Linked DNA regions of Homo sapiens: region 2 is linked to region 1. Evidence: promoter capture Hi-C in human tissues and cell types (Jung and others, 2019). All regions are on one chromosome and are shown on one strand. The core of a region is centred on a gene start or on the middle of the fragment in contact, and the rest is flanking DNA. Distances in the headings are between cores, read along the strand shown.

Region 1 (4,305 bases), core at 1,638-4,137:
TGCTTTTTGCCCTTTAAAGCATGTGATCTTCGTACCTACCCTCTGTTCGTACACCACCACCCCTTTTGCAATCCTTAATAAAAACTTGCTGGTTTTGAGGCTCGGGCAGGCATCATGGTCCTACCGATATGTGATGTCACCCCTGGCGGCCCAGCTGTAAAATTCTTCTCTTTGTACTCTTTCTCTTTATTTCTCAGCTGGCTGACACTTATGGAAAATAGAAAGAACCTACGTTGAAATATTGGGGGCAGGTTCCCCAATAGCCTTGCTGAGGAAATTAAATTTATGTTCAAGTGCTATTTCTTTATGGCACCAAGGAACAAGTATTTCAAACAATACTAATGTAACAGTACTGGTTCTATGTGTTTCAAAATTATTATTCTCATGAGTGTTAGCTTTCTTAAAAAATCGTTTTTTTTTTCAATTGGATCTAGACATCTTATCTTTCACAGCTCAAGACGGATTAACTCAGAATCATAAACTCTTAATGCATAATGAGAAATATAATGTTTCCTAGGGCCAGGCACTTGTGTCTGTGCTGGTGCTATTGCCTCAATGCAGGAAAATCTATGTAAGAGTTCACTGTGAGGCCAAAACTGCTTCCTAAACATGGATACCTGCCAGGTATCTGAGCTGGGAGTACTGCCCAGGTCTGGATGGGCGGGGAGTGTTTGCAACAAGGACTGTGCCTTGCCAGCCTCAGTGACACAGTGTCCAAGTGCCCCAACTTAGCAGCCACCTGCTGACCACCTGATTTCTGTGGCCTAATAGGGATGTGATGAAGTCTACCTGTTTACTCAACCCCAAACCACACATTATCCAGGTGGTTTGAAACTTTTTTGATATACTGGGTTCATCCTCTGGAGTCCTAACAATGTTTTAGCTAATTTACAAAAAACAAAACAAAACAAAACAAAACAAAACAAAACAAAAAAACTACTTTTTTTGCAGCACAACAGCCTGGTTTACATTGCAAAATGATTTCTCATTAAAGGTCTATCATCTATTTCCATATGTCCATTATTATTTGCAATATCCTTTAAAGCAGTCAACCCCAGGCTAATCCATTGCACAACTCTTTTGAAAGTCTTCCTTCTACCTTGAAAGAAGAAAGTTGGCAGGTTGGACATTGTTCTCGTGGAGGTTGTACCATGGGTCACATATCACGGTGTGACTTCAAAGGCCACTGGAGCCACCGTCTCATACTGAAGAACACACATGGGTCAGGAGCCAGGTCCAGGTCCGGAATGGTGGATCTGGAGAGGGGAGGGTCCCTGCCTGTGGTCCTGTGGGGAGCCCTCAGGCTCCTCTCTGGCCACCATCCTCTGACCTCCCTCCTCAGCAGGACAGGGTTCTGGCTTCTCTGAGGGACAGGTTCTGTGGCAGGCCAGGCGTCACTAACACAGGCCTCCATAACAACTGTTTCAGTACTGACTGAGTGGTGAAGTTAAATATTAAAAGCTGAAAAAAGCCAGTACCTTTATACAGAGGCTGGATGTAACAAAAGCCCACCAAGAGTTTTGCTTAGGCCTTTCCTGGGCCTTAAAGCATGACAAAACAATGAAGGAATTCTTAACAGGACCTATTTAGAATTAAACAAGTTTTATTGTGAGTCTGAAGAAACTCCCCAGGCCTCCACAAACAAGTTTATTGGGCGTCTGAAGGAACTCCCCAAACCTCCGTGATTTAGCAGGAGACAAGATAAGGGTAATCATCCCCCGCACCTGGACCCATTTAGATTAAATAAATAGACTGAGGCTCCAGAATAAGGTCCTCAGGACCCAGACCTCAGTTACAGATTAAAGAAGTTAATCACTTATGTCTTTAGATGAATGCACACTTACTTGTAGACATATACCTTAGAAGGTATATATGCTCTGGAAAACTTTGTAATATTGAGTTGGTCTGGTGGTAATTTCTAGGCCTTCTCCCTGTTACCGGTTGCAGAAATAAAACCTCTCTTCCTCCCCATTTGATCTGCATCTCGTTATTGGGCCTAGAGAAATAGCAGCCGGACCCTCAGTTTGGTCCGGGAAGTTCTTCCATCCTCCCTCGCCTGCTCTCTGTGGCCACTGCACTCACTGTTGCTGTTGCTGTTCCGGTCTCTGTGAGGTTCACCTAGTGGACTGGCTGGACATTTCTAGGGGGCACCTCAGATACCTCACCAACTTGCTGGATCTGATCCTTGGATTTCGATTCATAAATTGTGCCAAAATACGAAGTGGCTAATTTACACAGTACTTAGCCAGATGACCGAAGGACTCAGTACCCGAGGGCCCCTAACAGAAAACACAGACCACATTTCCTTTACTCTGGCCCTTTTCCTGGGGGTCCTTCCTATACCACTGACACTGTTCCTGTGTAGGCGGGGCTAGAGGGGAGACTAAGCCCTGGGAGTAGCTTTCGGATCAGAGGAAGTCCTGCTCTTACAGTGACAGGGGCTGAATTAAATTCCCAGGTTGGGGCCACCACTTTTTAGTCTGACCCCTGCAGCCGGAGTCTCCCAGAGCCCTTGGGAACTCGGCAGCGGAGAGAAGGCTGAGGGACACCGCGGGCAGGGAGGAGAAGGGAGAAGAGCTTTGCTCCGTTAGGATCTGGCTGGTGTCTCAAGCGCACAGCCAAGTCGCTGTGGACCTAGCAAGGGCTGGATGGACTCGTGGAGCCTCAGGGCTGGGTAGGGAAGCTGGCGAGGCCGAGCCCCGCCTTGGGCTTCTGGGCGCCCTGACTTCGCTCCCGGAACCCTCGGGCCTGGGAGGCGGGAGGAAGTCTTACTGAGTGCAGCCCCAGGCGCCCTCTCCCGGGCCTCCAGAATGGCGCCTTTCGGGTTGTGGCGGGCCGAGGGGCGGGGTCGCAGCAAGGCCCCGCCTGTCCCCTCTCCGGAGCTCTTATACTCTGAGCCCTGCTCGGTTTAGGCCTGTCTGCGGAATCCGCACCAACCAGCACCATGCCCATGATACTGGGGTACTGGGACATCCGCGGGGTGAGCGAGGGTCCGCTGGACGGTGGGACGAGGGCGCAGGGGAGGGAAGTGCGAAGCAGCTGCGGGACGGACTCTAGGGACCGTTCCTCTTCAGGGCTGCCCGCCTCAGAAGGGCCTGTGCATGCCGCTGTGTGTGTGTTGGGGGTGTGGGCGGGTAGAGGAGGCAACGGGTACGTGCAGTGTAAACTGGGGGCTTCCCTGGTGCAGACAAAGTCAGGGACCCTCCATCTCTGACGCGACCTGCGGGCCATCTCTCCCAGCTGGCCCACGCCATCCGCCTGCTCCTGGAATACACAGACTCAAGCTATGAGGAAAAGAAGTACACGATGGGGGACGGTAATGGCACCCTCGTGTTCGGGCTCTGCCCACTCACGCTAAGTTGGCACCAAGCAACCCATGGTGGCCACCTGTGGCTGCCTCTGCAGGCCTCCCCTGCTGGAGCTGCAGGCTGTCTCTTCCCTGAGCCCCGGTGAGGGAGCCCTCTGGCCTTGCAAGGCAGAATGCTGGGGTGGGATGCTGGGCCCCCTGTCTAATTGGGACGGGTGTCCCTCAGGGCTTGCCTAAACCCTGGAAGCCTTAGCTGTGTGGGGTCCAGAGCCCTCAGCGGGATTCTTTGTCCCTGAACCCTGGGATGTGGGACTGAGTGGTCAGATTCTAGATCCACCTGTCTCAGGGATCTTGCCACTGGCTCCGTGGGAGGGTCCCCGGGAAGGAGGGCTGGGCTCTGGGGAGGTTTGTTTTCACTTCTTCTTCCCCACCACAGCTCCTGATTATGACAGAAGCCAGTGGCTGAATGAAAAATTCAAGCTGGGCCTGGACTTTCCCAATGTAGGTGCAGGGGAAGGGGCGGTTTTGGGGGAAAGTGCAACGTGTCTCTGACTGCATCTCCTCTCCCCAGCTTAGAGGTGTTAAGATCAGGAGTCTTCTGCCCAATTCCTCTCACTCCTGGCTGTCTAAACAGTCCTTCCATGATGTTCTGTGTCCACCTGCATTCGTTCATGTGACAGTATTCTTATTTCAGTCCTGCCATGAGCAGGCACAGTGAGTGCCCGGTCTCCTCTCTGCTCTTGCTTATGGGAAGGGGATGCTGGGGAGCCTGGTGGCCCAACTGAGCTTCGCCGGTTTCCCATCCATCCAGCTGCCCTACTTGATTGATGGGGCTCACAAGATCACCCAGAGCAACGCCATCTTGTGCTACATTGCCCGCAAGCACAACCTGTGTGAGTGTGGGTGGCTGCAATGTGTGGGGGGAAGGTGGCCTCCTCCTTGGCTGGGCTGTGATGCTGAGATTGAGTCTGTGTTTTGTGGGTGGCAGGTGGGGAGAC
Region 2 (4,555 bases), core at 1,073-3,572, 550 kb after region 1:
TGCCCCTGCTCTCAGCCCCTGAGACCAGCAGCTCACTTTCCTGTCAGTTTCCCACACATCCCCAGCTCTCTCACCTTCAGTGTTTTTCCACTTGCTTTTCCCTCACGGGGACCACTTCACCCCAGTCCAGCCCCACCCCACCTCCTTCTCTTGGCTGAGAAGGCCTGGCTGTAAATTTCACTTTCTTGGTGAGGCGTTTTCCCCTCACACATCCACGCCCCTCTGCCTCTGTCAGTTTCCATCACTGCAGCCAGTGCATTTTCTTCATGGTACTTACAGTCCTTTGTAACTATGAATTGTGTATTGCCTGCTTCCCTGTAAGTTGCTAGGGCCTATAGGGGCTCGGTAAATATTTTATGAACAAATGAATGAATGGGCTGGAGATAGGCCTGGCATGAGCAGCTGCTGAACTCCATCCTCTCTTATTCCTCGCAAGCTGTCTCCAGCTGGCTTTTGCACCTCATTTCTAGGGCATTCCTGGGAGTCCTTGGGGAATAACATGAACGCTCTTCTTTTTACATTATGCATTTCCTGCCTGAGAAACTGTCAGAATAATGAGGAAGCCTTGGAGAGAGAGTTCCCATAGCCCTTCCTCTCTCTTCCTTTTAGAACCTACCATTTTCTACCTGGTACTTTTTGGTACTTGTCAAATTCCCCTTCCCACAGTGGCGAGTTGCTCAGAGGTGCTGGTTCATCCCAGCTCCCACTCGAGGGCCTAGCTTAGTGGTCCATGCAGAGTAGGTGCTCAGCGAAATGTTGAAGTGAATGAAGGATATGGTGAGAAAGGAAGCAATGAGTAAGAAGGAAGAGTGAGAAAGAAGGAAAGAGGAAGAGGAGGGAGGGGCAAAGGGGTTGATGAAGAGTGAAGAAGCAGAGGGAGGGAAGTGAGGTCAGGGAGTGGGAAACGGGGAAAGAGAACCCTGGCCCGGTGTCCACCTCAAGCCAGCACCCTACCCCACTCCTTCCAGTCTTCCTGGACTCGGAGCCTCCCAGGCCTGCCCCAGCCTTAGGTGGGACAGCAGGGTTCCTCCAGCCTGCCACTGACACCAAGGGCACCCTGAACTCAGCTCAGACCCCAGGCTGCCCGGAGCAGGAGAGACTGCTCCTGAAGAGACTTCTGCAGGGACGAGAGCCCAGGATTCCTTAACCTGAGGCCCAGCTCCATCCCTGAGATCCCTAGAGACTCCCCTCAGCTCCCCTCCCCTCAGCTCCTCATATTGAGCCCCTGATCCAAGGACGATTAACTCCAAATCCAGCATCAGTGATCAAATGTTCATAGCAAACAAAGGAAAACAAACACCACCTTTCCTCCTTGCCTCAGCCCTGGGGCCCCAGAGGCTTGGCTCAGAGACAGGTGCCCTGCCTCCTCCCCACGCCCGGCACAGGCCTGCCAGCTGCCCCTCGAGAAGACCAGGGGCCAGCCTCAGAGGCCCGGAGGATCTGTTCCCAGAGTAGCTGTTGCCACAGTGACCCTCCCTGGGGTGGTGGCTCCTAAGCTGCCATGGGAGGCAGAGCTGTGCCACTACCACGACGACCACCACCACCACCAGGGCTGCCACCACAGCAAAGCTGCTCCTGGGGCCTCCCTCCTAGTTAGGCTGCCGAGAGACCAGTCTGTGCTATCCTCTCACCATGCCAGGCAGCCACAGTACCAGGGAACAGGAGTCACAATCAGCCCCCTTCCAACACCCCGGCAGCATCCCGCTGTCTGCCCCAGGACCCGCTCTTCCCCTGAGGGGATGACACTGCCCCCCTGGAAAATTGATTAGGGACCTCATTTCTGTCAGCACCCCACTAGAGATGGCAACCAGCTCCCAGGGCGCCTGGGGGCGGGATGTTGAGGGCAGCAGGGAGGTAAGAAGGCTCCAGTGATACCAGGCTCCCTCTGGGCCTCGGTGCTAGGTGGTGACAAGCTGGGTTTCCCTGGACAGGACTGGAAAGTTGCTCTCTAATACTCTCTATCTTTCTGCTTGGGTTCTTTCCCACCCCTGCCAGAGGCTCTTGCTAACTACTGTCCCCTTACATACTGGCACCTAAACATAAACACACATTTCCAGAGTCGTCCTGCTCTCTTCATTTTCTGACCTATGCACAAGAAAGTATTTTGTGTCAGTCATCAGCACTCTAGTATGAATTTAGGGTCCATGTATATTTTATTTCCCAGGAGATAGGACTGTTGACCTTCTCTCAACTTGTGGAGTGACAGCCTTGTTCTCTGTGATAGGAAGTCCTAGCACCAGAGAGCTCCAAGCAGGATAGATAATTTTTTCGATTAGGAGAGGAAGAAATCCAAAACTTCCTGTGTGGGTCAAATTAGGGGCCAGAGCTCTACAAGGAATTCTGGCCTGACTCCAATTAACAAAGAAGGACGTGGAGCGCAAAAGAGAAATCCAAAGTGATATGCAATGGAGGCTGCCTCTGTCTGGAAGATCTTCCTGCTCCTTGTGCTCCCCTCTTACATTCTACTATTGTGTCCTCAGCCTGGCAAACTCTTACTCATCCCTCAAGGCCCACTCAACTGTCACCTCTGAGAATCCTTCCTGGGCTCTCCCAGGTAGAATTCCTCTGTCCTTTATGCTCTCACAGAACCTTGAATATTCCTCCATTATAGCACTTACTGCAGTGATAACTTGTTGCTTGTTTACTCATTTATGGATGCTTTCCTTATTAATGTTTTTACCTCCAGCCCCTGCTCAGTGGTCAGGAGCTCAAAGGTGAACAAAGGAATGAGTGAATGAGTAAGGAGTGAATGAATTAGCTGCCCTCTGCTGACTTCTGCCCTTCACCCCTGTCATTCTAGTCCATGGTTGGGTTGTAAGATTTGTCCAGAATAATTATCCGGGATGCTGGACCTCTCACTCTGCCATCCCACCACCATGTGCCAGCCAAGTCTCCTCTCACCCACGCCACCCTCACCATCAGTACTCCCTTCCAAAGTTCCCCATTTCCCCTCAACTCTCCAGGCTTCAGCCATCTGGGCCTTTCTTTCCTGATGTTAGTAGCTTCAATTTACATCACAGTTAACTTGGAACAGCGGGGGGGGCTATATCCTGGGTCCTTTCTCCCTCCGTCTGCTTCCTTCTCAGTCTTCATTAGTGGTGTTCTGTGAGCCTCCCACCCACCCCAACTCTCCGAGTGCTAGTTAGGTGCTCAGGTTTGTGCTCTTGGATGAAACTCCTGCTACATAAGTGGACATAGAAAAAGAGGCTGGCAAGGGTTGTTTCCAGAGGGGTCTGAGCCAATCCCACGCTGTTGCTGGGCTTGAGGTTCCACATCTGTGAATGGGAATTAAGCTTCCCCTGCCTTCATCCAAGGTGGGATGATAATTAAATGAGAGTGGATGGATGGGTCCTTTGGAACTCCTGAAGCACCACTGGAGGCAAGGGATTATCATTCTTCTGGCTTTCTCTCTGTCGAGGACTTGGGTGTTCCTCCAGAGTCAGAGGGCAGGTGCCTCTGGAAGGTATAATAGCTAACGTGGATTGAGTGTTTACGACCAGCCCAAGCCCCCTACATGGCTTAATGGATCAGAGCAGCCCCAGGAGGTAAGGGCTCTTTTTATCACTCACATTTTACAGGTGAGGAAACTGGAGAGTAATTTGATGGAGATCTCACAGATAGATTTCACAGGCGATTTTGACCATGCTTCTACACTGGCTCTGTGGCCAGCCCCTTGGCACCAGCACCACCACTGCCATCGATTTCTGGTCCACGGCCAGATTGCTAATTCTGGCTCCACTGGCTTTGCCACTTGTGAGCTGCGTGACCTTGGGCAAATGACTTAACCTTTCTAAGCATGGTCTGTGAAATGGAGAGAAGGAAACATCTCCAGATTTTGCCCAGAGGAGTAAATGGAGGTGGGATATGTGAAGTGGCTCTAGACCCAGGCAGTAAACAGTGCTCAGTGTGTGTCCTTCCCTATTGACACTGACAGACCCTGCCTGGCAGGCCTGAGCACAACAGAAGCACTAGAAGTCCTTTTCCAGAAATTCCTTGCTAGGGCCTCTCACTGTGGACTGAGAGGATGGAGGCAGGTCCAACTCGAGGCAGGGCCTTGGGACACCAGTGCTCATGAGACAACTCACTGTCATGACCATTTCCGCCTTAGCGACCCAGAAGTGGTGACACCTGTGTGCTTGCTTCCCGAAGCAGTGAGAAGCCAGACGGAGACCCACACAGCTGCTGGCTCTAAAGGCTGCTCCCTGCACGTGGGCACCTCAGCCCCACCTTCCATTCCTCTCTCTAACCTGCTTCCCGGACCTGCTGGGGCCAGGAGCTGCCCCAAGTCCTTTCCACACACACCTGTGAGCTCCTGGGAATGAGATTAAAGGAGGCAGGGAGGTGAGAGGAAGCACAGGGGAAGACTGAAAGCAGATCTCAGAAGCTGAGAAGAGGAAGATGAAGAGGAGGAAGAGGGAGAAGGGAGAGTGGCAGAGAGAGGAGCAGTAGCCCGCGGAGCAGGGAGAGAAAAAGCAGGTAGGGAAGGGGGAGGGGCAGAGGAGGGGAAGGAGGAGGGCCTGCACCCGGCTGTGGGCAGAGGCTGCGGGGCCTAAAA

The links. Contacts are between HindIII fragments. The study calls those that stand out against the background at their distance.
Region 2: a contact is called between a fragment that was not itself captured here and the fragment with the promoter of GSTM1 in region 1, in 2 of the 25 tissues and cell types used here (aorta and small bowel).

Annotation. Positions count from the first base shown.
Region 1 is chr1:109,684,930-109,689,234 of GRCh38, forward strand. It overlaps GSTM1 (glutathione S-transferase mu 1), which reads left to right and starts at 2,888. Exons shown (of 8, transcript NM_000561.4): 1 at 2,888-2,980; 2 at 3,241-3,316; 3 at 3,744-3,808; 4 at 4,119-4,200; 5 at 4,296-4,305. The coding sequence starts at 2,945. RefSeq lists an enhancer at 2,938-2,987. The HindIII fragment of the contact is 14,943 bases long and covers 1-4,305 here.
Region 2 is chr1:110,239,220-110,243,774 of GRCh38, forward strand. It overlaps a transcript of KCNC4 not described here. Among named protein-coding and RNA genes, the nearest start is that of KCNC4, 31 kb to the left of the region's middle. The HindIII fragment of the contact is 5,191 bases long and covers 1-4,555 here.